2 separate regions of the Homo sapiens genome follow, and region 1 is linked to region 2. The links are contacts of gene promoters, found by promoter capture Hi-C in blood cells and fetal thymus (Javierre and others, 2016). All regions are on one chromosome and are shown on one strand. The core of a region is centred on a gene start or on the middle of the fragment in contact, and the rest is flanking DNA. Distances in the headings are between cores, read along the strand shown.

What was found. The method cuts DNA at HindIII sites, captures the fragments that hold promoters and counts their contacts. A CHiCAGO score of 5 or more calls a contact.
Region 1: a contact is called between the fragment with the promoter of SERTAD3 here and the fragment with the promoter of LINC01480 in region 2, in 1 of 17 cell types (naive CD8 T cells). The highest score is 6.9, in naive CD8 T cells.

Annotation. Positions count from the first base shown.
Region 1 is chr19:40,442,536-40,447,888 of GRCh38, forward strand. SERTAD3 (SERTA domain containing 3) reads right to left here and starts at 1,800. Exons shown (of 2, transcript NM_203344.3): 1 at 1,680-1,800. SERTAD3-AS1 (SERTAD3 antisense RNA 1) reads left to right here and starts at 1,982. Exons shown (of 2, transcript NR_187496.1): 1 at 1,982-2,093; 2 at 2,355-2,728. BLVRB (biliverdin reductase B) reads right to left here. Exons shown (of 5, transcript NM_000713.3): 5 at 5,233-5,353. RefSeq lists silencers at 647-1,026, 1,492-1,551, 1,732-2,051, 2,112-2,331. The HindIII fragment of the contact is 20,405 bases long and covers 1-4,147 here.
Region 2 is chr19:41,533,916-41,538,851 of GRCh38, forward strand. LINC01480 (long intergenic non-protein coding RNA 1480) reads left to right here and starts at 1,583. Exons shown (of 3, transcript NR_110724.1): 1 at 1,583-1,686; 2 at 1,799-1,868; 3 at 2,686-2,989. The HindIII fragment of the contact is 2,878 bases long and covers 1,295-4,172 here.

The DNA of each region.
Region 1 (5,353 bases), core at 550-3,049, 1.1 Mb before region 2:
TGCTCAGCTGCGTGATCATGGGAAGTGATCTGAATGAGTCAATTCTCAGGGCCTCAGTTTCCTCATCTGTAAAATAGGGACTGTAAAAAAATACTTCTCACCACCTCTGTCAAGGAGATGCCACGTATCTATAGGGCCCACCACACCGGAAGTGCTTAATGAACAAGAGTTGTGTTTGTTTTTTGTTAGAGACAGGGTCTCGCTCTGTCGCCCAGGGCTGAGTGCAGCAGCGCTATCACAGCTCACTGCAGTCTCGAAGTCCTGGGCTCAAGCGATCCTCCCGCCTCAGCTTCCTGAGTAGCTGGGATTACCACCACACCCGGCCTCGATCAAGAGTTAATTGCCAGTTATTCGCTCAACAGATTTACTGAGTGCCTACTATATTCGAAATCTCCTGGAGCCCTGTTGGGGAACCTATGTTGAGATTCTTCTTCAACAGTCGGGATATTTCTATGTCCTCTTCCTTAACCGACTGGGAGCGCTCCCAAGAGTAGGAAAGGGGCCTGTCTCATTCCCTCTGCCCACGCTTTCAGATTCCCCCAAAGCGCGCCCCATAGGAAAACTTGCTAGAACTCAGCTCAGACCAAGCCCCGCCCCCTCGGAGGTCCCACTCAATCAGACCGCGACACTGTAAGGCCCCGCCCCCCCATGGGTCCTTACAGAGCATCCAGGAACGCCCCAATTTGGCCCAGGGGCTTCTGGGAAACGGGGGCCAACAGCCGCCAGGTACACGAATTGACGTCGAGCACGCACTACAATCCCCAGAGGGCTCCGCCCGTCCAGGGGACGAGCCACCCCCCTCACCCCGCTCTCCCTCAGGGCATGCGCACAGGGGCACAGGCGGGTGGGGGAAGGGAACCTGGACGTCCAGCTGCCGGCGCCTGCCGAGCCCCGCCCTCCATTGCCTCCGGGGCCGCGAGTCTGAGCTCCAGGCCCGGAACACCCCTCCCCCACCCCAGACTCCGGCTCTAAATTTGCTTTCTCCCGGTCCCTCTGTTCCTTGAAAGTCCGCGATTCTCCTTCCAAACTGCCCTTGGATCCAGAGACCCAGATCCGAACACATCGCTCAAAGACGACAATGCTCCGATCTAGTTCGGGAGACTACGTATCCTAATTCTGATACTTCCTCCCACTTCTCCTAGTCTCCTGACTTTCAAACGCCCCTGGACTTCACCTCCAAACTCGCTGTCCGGCTCCAAGACCCGAACATTGAACTCTTCCCGGCAACCTCCTTCCCCCGCCAGTGCGTCTTGGAGTCCCAAGAATCCTTGACCCTAGTTCTCTCGCTTCTCCAAATACTCAGAATCTCAGCTCCGTACCTCTCACACCTTTTCCAGAACACGATAAAGCCCCGAATTCAACCCGTCCGGAAGACCCAAGTGGAATCGAATCTCCAGGTTCCCTGTCTCAAAAGTTCCTCCCCTCTGTTCTCTCGCTTCTCCAAAAGCCCAACGTCCCAGCTTCAAACTCCCTCCACTTGAAAATACTGCCCCAACAACCTCGCCTCCCCTCCTGGGTCTTGAACTCAGTCTCAGGTCCCCAGACCCTCCCTATCATCACCCTGAATCTGAGGCCCCCTCCCCCGGTCCCACCCAGACCCCGCCTCCGCAAGTCCCCGGGGCGCGCTTCTCTCTCCCCCAGCCTAAGGTAAATTCCCAAGCCAGGCGACCACTCCTCACCGCAGCTGCCAGGTTCGCCACGACCACCTCCTGGAACGCCCACAGCGTTGCGACCCGCCAGTGCCAGGACCCACCAGTGACCGGTTGGAGCCTCGCTCACCTCGGCGGGGCCTCTCCGTCTGGCCTCTGGCCCACCAGCCCCGCCCCGGAGCCGAGCCGCGAGCCGCGATTGGCTGGAGTCCCGCCCGCCGCGGGGCGTCGATTGGCTGGGCGGAGCCATCCGCCCGTGCCCCGAGACGCCGGATCCGCCCACCCCTCCCTAGCGCCCCGGGCCATTTAAAGAAGTGCAACTGGCAGGGGGCGGGGCAGCGACTCCGGGGTGGAGGGCGGCCGGTCCAACAGAACCGCTTCCTTCCACTCAGCTACAGTCCTCGCTCCAAGATCGTCACCATTGCTCCCTGCGGTTCCTTTATGGTAGGCCTGGACTCCACCGTGGAGCCAGAGGGGCTGGCATGCCCCTCCCCAAGTCGCTGTGCAGGCGGGCGGGGCCGAGCAACCGGAGGAGGCCGCGCCCCCGGGGTTCCGAGGGAGGACGCTGGGGCGCGGGGGATGACGTAGCGGAAGACCAGCCAATAGAGTGGCGCGGCCCGCGTTGCCTAGGCGATCGTAGCCTCGCCCCCTTGCTGCCCCTCCCGCCCCCTATACGTTACCGCGCGGCCCCTTCTTAATCCTCAGGTTTTCTCAGCACGTCCTCTGGTGGTCCCACCTGGGTCTTCTGACACCCTCTTTCCTTCCCCGCTCCATCAAGATGACTCCTCTGCTACTGTTCATGGCTTCCTACCCACCCCGAATACAAACTTCAAACTCCTTCCTTTTGCCACAAAGCCCCTCACGACCTTGCTTGATGCGTTCTCCTGGTTCTCTCCGATCCTGCCCCATTGAGTCACTTCCAGTTTTTCTAAAATGGCTTCAAGCTCCCATTCACCCCATCAGGAAAACGAAAGGATTTTCTCTGTTTGTTTTCTTCCCTGCTTTACCCCAGTGTCTACAACAATGCCAGGTACATAATAAGTTCGCAAACATGACAATAAAAGGCCTCTGGATCTTTATTATTAATATTATTTTTTGCCGGGCGCAGTGGCGCACGCCTGTAATCCCAGCACTTTGGGAGGCGGAGGCGGGCAGATCACTTGAGGTCAGGAGTTTGAGACCAGCCTGGCCAACAATGGTGAAACCCCGTCTCTACTAAAAATACAAAAATTAGCTGGGCGTGGTGGCGCACGCTTGTAATCTCAGCCACTTGGGAGGCTGAGGCAGGAGAATCGCTTGAACCTGGGAGGTTGAGGTTGCAGTGAAGGCGAGATCGTGCCACTGCACTCCAGCCTGGGTGACAGAGAGATGGGGGAGGGGGGAGGGGGGTTTTCTTGTGTTGCCCAGGTTGGTTTTGAACTCCTGGCCTCAAGCAATCTTCTCGCCTCTGGATATTTAAACTTGTTTCCTCATCCTCAAAATATACCCTCAATTCCCAGGCTGCTTCTCAGAACACATTTCAAAGGTTTCCTCCTCTCCGAAGCCCTCCCTGGCAGTCCAGGTTGGGTTAGGATCCATTCTAGGATTCCATGGCCTCCTGTGCCGCCATCCCAGTCCTGGACTGTCAGTTACTATATGGACTGAGGAACGCCCCGCCGAGGGCAGGTACCAAGGATATCTCTGTCAACCACCTCTTGGTCTGCAGGATCACCTAGCACAGGGCTGGACACGTAGCAGGTCCCAGTGAAAGTTTGCTAAATGCTCAGGAATGTGACAGAAAAATAAGGCAGAAAGAAGACACTGCTAGTGTCCTGAAAGCCCACACCCGTAATGCTCCGCCCCTACAACGAGTTTCCCTAAGGGGAGGAGGCAGTTTTCTCCAGGCCACCTCTGGGAAGGGAGGTTTAAGCCTCCTCAGACCAGTTCTTGCCGGTTGGAGTTTGTCAACCAAGTCATCCTGATGTTTGCAGGATAAATGGGAGGGGAATAGGTAGGTGGGTGGTGTGGGTTGGAGGTAGGGAGAGAGAAGTGTCTTAGCTCACCCAGGCCTAGGGAAGGTGTCCCTGGGAAAAAAAGAAAGGGACAGTAGGTTCCAAAAAAGGACATAATTAGGAAGGAGCAATTCTTCCCCTTCCTCCTCCAAAACCTGCGCCTCCTATAGGGTCCACAACTCAGGAAAGCCCTACTGCATTTGGGTTTTTGTTTTTGAGACGGGGTCCCACTCCGTCGTGGATGCTGGAGTGCAGTGGCGCACCTTGGCTCACTGCAGCCTCAGCCTCCCTCCTGAAGCACTAGTGTAACTCTGTCCCCGGGTTACAGCCGTATGCTTCTTTCTGATGCCTCCCCTCCACCCCTCACCAACTGTCCACGCAGGCTCCCAGGCATTCCTCACACCCACTCTCTCCTCCCCTCCTTACAGTTCCTCCTCCAACTCCCTCTGGGCTATCAGCCTCCATTCCTGGACCCTTCCTTTCCACCTTCACAGAGTAGCCAAAGGAAGCTTCATAAAACACCCAACTGTCCCCCCTGCCTTACTTCTCTGGTGCTCCACTCCTTGCATAAATCCTCAAAATAAAGCACAAACTTTTTTTTATTTTCAGAGACAGGGTCTGGATCTGTCCTACAGGCTGGAGTGCAGTGGCCAGGCCTTGACCTCCTGGCCTCAAGCCATTCTCCCGCCTCAGCCTCCTGAGTATCTGGGACTACAGGTACACACCACCATGCCCAGCTAAGTTTTTAAAAATTATTTTGTAGAGATGGGGTCTCACTATGTTGCCCAACCTGGACTCCTGGCTTCAAGCCATCCTCCCACCTCAGCTTCCTGAGTATCTGGGACTATAGGTGCACACCACCATGCCCAGCTAAGTTATTATTATTATTATTATTGAGATGGAGTCTCGCTCTGTCACCCAGGCTGGAGTGCAGTGGCACAATCTCGGATCACTGCAACCTCCACCTCCCAGGTTCAAGCGATTCTCCTGCCTCAGCCTCCTAAGTAGCTGGGATTACAAGTGTGCATCACCACGCCTGGGTAATTTTTGTATTTTTAGTAGAGACAGGGTTTCACCATGTTCGCCAGGCTGGTCTTGAACTCCTGACCTCAAGTGATCTACCCGCCTCGGCCTCCCAATGTGCTGGGATTCCAAGCATGAGCCACCATGCCTGGCCAGACTCAATAAACTGTTACTGGGCGGGGCGCAGTGGCTCACGCCTGTAATCCCAGCACTTTGGGAGGCGAGGCAGGCGGATCATGAGGTCAGGAGATCAAGACCATCCTGGCTAACACGGTGAAACCCTGTCTCTACTAAAAATACAAAAAAATTAGCTGGGTGTGGTAGTGGGCGCCTGTAGTCCCAGCTACTGGGGAGGCTGAGGCAGGAGAATGGTGTGAACCTGGGAGGTGGAGCTTGCAGTGAGCCAGATTGCGCCACTGCACTCCAGCCTGGGCGACAGAGCAAGACTCGGTCTCAAAAAAATAAAAAAATAAAAATAAACTGTTACTGAACAAATGAATGAATGCATAACAAGCAAATCTTACACAGAGGCAGGCAGACACACCAAAATACTCAGACAGAGGCAGAGAGAGGAAGAGTCACACAGTCGGTTTCTCTAGAGTAATTTGAAGCTCTTGGCTCAACATTTATTGCCCCCTTCCTTTGCTCCTCATGTCCCAGAATGCCACCCTCCCAGATGGGGACAGAGTG
Region 2 (4,936 bases), core at 333-2,832:
AGGAAAAAGACAGTTAATCAAATTGTAACAGGTTCATAACTCAGGATTGCACATAACTGTTGCTATGCAACCCAGATGTCTATTATCTAGGTTTTGCTCTAAAGAGGCTTGCATTGGTTTATCTTCACTATGGTGCCTAGAGAGCTGTAGTTCAGGCCTGCTCAGGCTTCTCATGACCTTTGCCATACTTCTTAGATAAAACAGAATACTTGAAGTTACTAGTTAAAGAGAACAAGAATCTATAAACTCATACCATAAAACAAAGGAAAATTTGTTTTTCTTCTCCCTACATTGAAGGAGTGCTGGAAGAGTCTCCAGAATACAATAAATAATATTATCAAGACTTTTCCTGGGTCTGGGCTGTGCCTGTTGCTGCCTCTGGGACAAGTTAGCTTAATACAAGAAAGCTTATTTCCCTTTCTTTTTAATTTTATTTTTCTTTAATTTCCCACCTCAGTTTTACTTTGCATTTCCCTGAGAATTTTTAATAAGTAAAATACTTAGAAATATACTTAACCAAGTAGGTTAATGTAAGTTTCCTACAAGGAAAACTACAAAATAGTGCTGAAAGAAATCACAGTTGACACAAACAAATGGGAACACATTATAAGCTTATGAATAGGTAGAATCAATATTGTGAAAGTGACCATACTCTCCAAAGCCATCTACAGAGCAGTAGAATTCTCATCAAAATATCATCATTCTCCTTCCCAGAACTAGAAAAAAGAATCCTAAAATTTATACAAAACCAAAAACGTGACCGCATATCCAAAGCAATACTTTGCAAAAAGAACAAATCTGAAGGCAGGCTTTAAATTATACTACAAGGCTACAATCACCAAAATAGCATGATACTGGTATAAAATATGCACATAGAGCAATAGAACAGAATAGAGAACCCAGAAATAAAGCCAAATGCTTACAGACAACTAATCTTCAACAAAGTACACAAAAACATTAATTGGGGAAAGGATACTTTATTCAATAAATGGTGCAGGAAGTATAAAAATAGGCACATAGAGCAATGGAACAGAATAGAGAACCCAGAAATAAAGCCAAATGCTTACAGACAACTAATCTTCAACAAAGTATGCAAAAACACTAATTGGGGAAAGGACACTTTATTCAATAAATGGTGCAGGAAGTATAAAAATAGGCACATAGAGCAATGGAACAGAATAGAGAACCGAGAAACAAAGCCCGGTACTTTCAGTCACCTGATCTTTAACAAAGCATATAAAAACTTCCATCTAAGACCTGAAAGTCTAAAAATGCTACAAGATAGCATCCAAAAAGCTTTTCTAGACATTGGCTTAGGCCAAGTAGTCATGACTAATGCCCCAAAAGCAAACGCAAAAATATAAAAATAGAATAAGATCAATAGGACCTAATGAAACCGAAAATCTTCTGCAAGGCAGAAGAAATATCAGCAGGGTAAACACACAACCCACAGTATAGGAAACAGTAGTCACAAACTAGGCATCTGACAAAGGACTAATGTCCAGACTCCAAAGGAACTGAAAGAAATCAGCAAGAAGAAAAGGTGCCATTTACCACCTTCCTGACTCATTGGCCAGAACCAATGTTAGTGGAATTAACATATGCCCCACCCCAAGTGACTTCTAAAGGGCTAACTCACCACAAGGGAGTCAGAGCAGATCTTGGACTGAGACCTACAGGACACAGGTACTGCTTTTTCTCTTTTATTTGTTTTAAATTTTATTTATGTTTTTAGATCAAATAGTTCAGATTGCATTGGTTTTTAATCTGCTGTTGTTGGATTAACATATGCTTTAAGCGACTCTTAAATAGGTGGCTCACCAGGAGAAAGGCATAGCAGAACCTGGACTGAGACCTACGGGAGACAGGTATTGCTTTTTCTCTTCTAATCATTTTAAATTTAATTTACCATCTTTCATCAAATAGCTCCGATCATATCATTATTTTTTCTTTTCTGTTTTGTTGGTGGTTTTATTGGTGGAGTTTTATTTTACTATTTTAGAAAAGCAGTCTTTTAAAAAAGACTTTTAAAAAGTTTTATTACTCTTTTTTTTAAAAAAATTATGTTTTCCCTTGATGTGCTTATTTCCTTTATAAAGATCATCACCATTAAATTACTAGGAGATACTGCGGCTGATTTTGTCATGCGTGAGATAAGAAATTTTTTGCCAAAGCAATTAGTGATGAGTGCAATGGAAAAATCCGTGATGATCTTTTAAGATGATTAACTTTCTAATCCAGAAAATGCTGCTGTTTGTACTGAACAAAATAGCTTTATTTTTATATGACCAGGGGTACATAAAATGCTTCAAAACAACACATAATTTGGCAAAAATACTATGTCTTGCCAGCCAGAAGAATAAGTGTGGTTTTATTTCTATGTATATGTCTAGTACCATGCCTGCACTAGAGTTGGGAAATTTTAAAAACATCACCTATTGATACAGAAGAGAAGTGCTGGGAAGGGAAGGGCATGGTCCCTTTGAATGATACAGAAAAGGTGAAGGAAAGTGATGGGTAGAGGAGGCCGGGGTCCCTGGCTAGGGCTCCAAACCTGGGCTTGTGCCCCTGGACCTAGATGAGGACAGGCATTTTTGTTTTCCTGACCAAATGTTGCATTTCCCAAGATCACCCTGGCCCACCATGCCCTATCCTGTGCCTAAAAAAACCCTGGGACCCTAGCAGGCAGACACACAGGAGGTTGGACGTCGAGAGGAGCACATCAGTGCAAGAACACATGGGTGGCTGCCACTTCTCTCCCTTTCCTGAGAGGGAAAAACTCTCGACGCTGAGAGGAATCCACCAACAGGCACCAGCACTCTGGCAGGCCACCGACCAATGGATTGACATAGAGTTTGGCTGGGGCAGCCAGAGGAGAGCCTGGGCCGCTGAATAACCCGACTTCAGGGGAAAACTATTCTCCCTTTTGGCTCCCCCATCTGCTGAGAGCTACTTCCACTCAATAAAACCTTGCACTCATTCTCCAAGACCACGTGTGATTTGATTTTTCTGGTACACCTAGGTAACAACCGCGGGATACAGAAAGCCCTCTGTCTTTGGGTTAAGGAATGGGTCTAATTGAGCTGGTTACCACAAAGCCACCTATAGATGGCAAAACTAAAAGAGCACATGGTACCACATGTCCACTGGGGCTTCAGCAGCTGTAAACATCTACCCCTAGATGCTGCCATGGGGTTGTAGCCCCACAACTTGCCAGTCTGTATGCTTCCCTAGAGGTTTGAGCAGCGGAGTACTAAAGAAGCAAGCCACACCCCCACTCCACCTCCTGTGAGGGGGACAAGGAAACTTTTCCCATTTCAACTGGTGGCTCGTCTGGGATCTCGGAAGGTGAGTGTGAGTGAATGGGAAACTGTTGGGCCTGCCTTTCTTCCAAAACTCTGCCACTTCTCTCCCTTTCCTGCAGGTAAAAGACTCTGTTTTCCTTTCATCTCTTTTCTCTCTCACACATTATTTGAAATGGATCTTATCTCTTCCTTTATAATGTTAAGAGTTTTGCTACAGGCTGAGGCAATGTTACTAAGTAAAATGAGCATTTGGCTCAGCCGCCAAAGGTGCAAATCAGACCAATTTTTCCTAGAGGTGCCATGTATGCCTCCACCTTGACAGCCCCAGGCATGAGCGGCTTCCAGGGCACCTCTCCTTACCCTTTTCCCTCCCAGCTCCAGCACCTAGGCATGCCTGCAGCAGGCAAAGGCCACACCCAATAGCCATGAAGGGGCAGGGGGAGCAATGTCGCAGAAGTGTCTCCCTCCACTGCCTGGGATGAGGGGGGTGTGAGAAAACCGATGGTAGCCAGGACCCTACAGAGTGCTTCTCACCCACTGCATCAATGGAACCTTTCCTTCCATGGCCAAGGAATTCAACCTGGTCTGAACTGGGGGAAGGATGGGAAAGTTATAAGGATTAGAGGGGCCCACTTGCACTAAGCAAGGGGTTCTTCCCCCAGCATTCCCCACTTTTTGCCTCTTTAACTGTTTTTCTCTTTTTTTCTTTTCTAAGTGAGAATCCCCACCGCTCTGTTTCTAATAGGGAAGTTAACAGAGGAGTGACCCCTGCTGGCTGATAATTGCAAATTCAGCAGGGCTTATTTGAGGCACTAAATGGATATAAACAGCCTCTGAAATGCTTTTTCAGTCCCAAACTCAATTCCAAGCTTCAGGCTGAGGCCCTAGAAAGAGAAAGCAGGTCTGAGGAATTCAAAGCCAGGCAACAGGCACAATGTAAATGGACAGGACCAATTCCTGCTGACTGAACCCCATCCCACAGAAGGAGGCCATGCCTCATGGGATAAAAAGGCCCAGGGAACTCAAAGTTTTTCAACAGCAGGGAGAAAAGGAAACATAGGTGAGGGCAGTTAATTCCTAATCTCCAGGTTCTCCCTGCTTCATGGGTACATACCGCATTTGTACCTGTGGCCGGCACCTGCCAAGGTTGCCAGGGCGCAGGGGTAAGAGGTGGAAAGTGAAGTGAAGATGCTTGCTTTCCCTCCCCATCACACCCTGAGCTTTTTGCCAAAAGAAGGAAGGGAAATGAGGAACACCTCTATTCCCTGTCTTTCAGAATGGGCAGCCAGTTCTCCTCACCACCCCCAGCTTGTACTCCCCTTGAGTGTATCCTGAACCATTGGGACTGTTTTGACCCTCAGAATCCAGAGGAAAAGCATCTCATAGCCCTCCGCACATAGGTTTGGCCAAATTATGGTTTACAGGAAGGACTGGCTTGGCTTCAGGAAGGGACCATTCATTTCAATACCATCCTGCAATTAGAACTTTTCTCTGGATGTGAGGACACATGGTCTGAGGCCCCAAATGTGCAGGCTTTCTATACCTTGCAAAGCAATCCAGACCTTTGCTGACATGTAGGATTGTTCCAGCCCTCCTGTTTGCTGTCTCGGGGAAGGCTGCCAGGGTCAAGC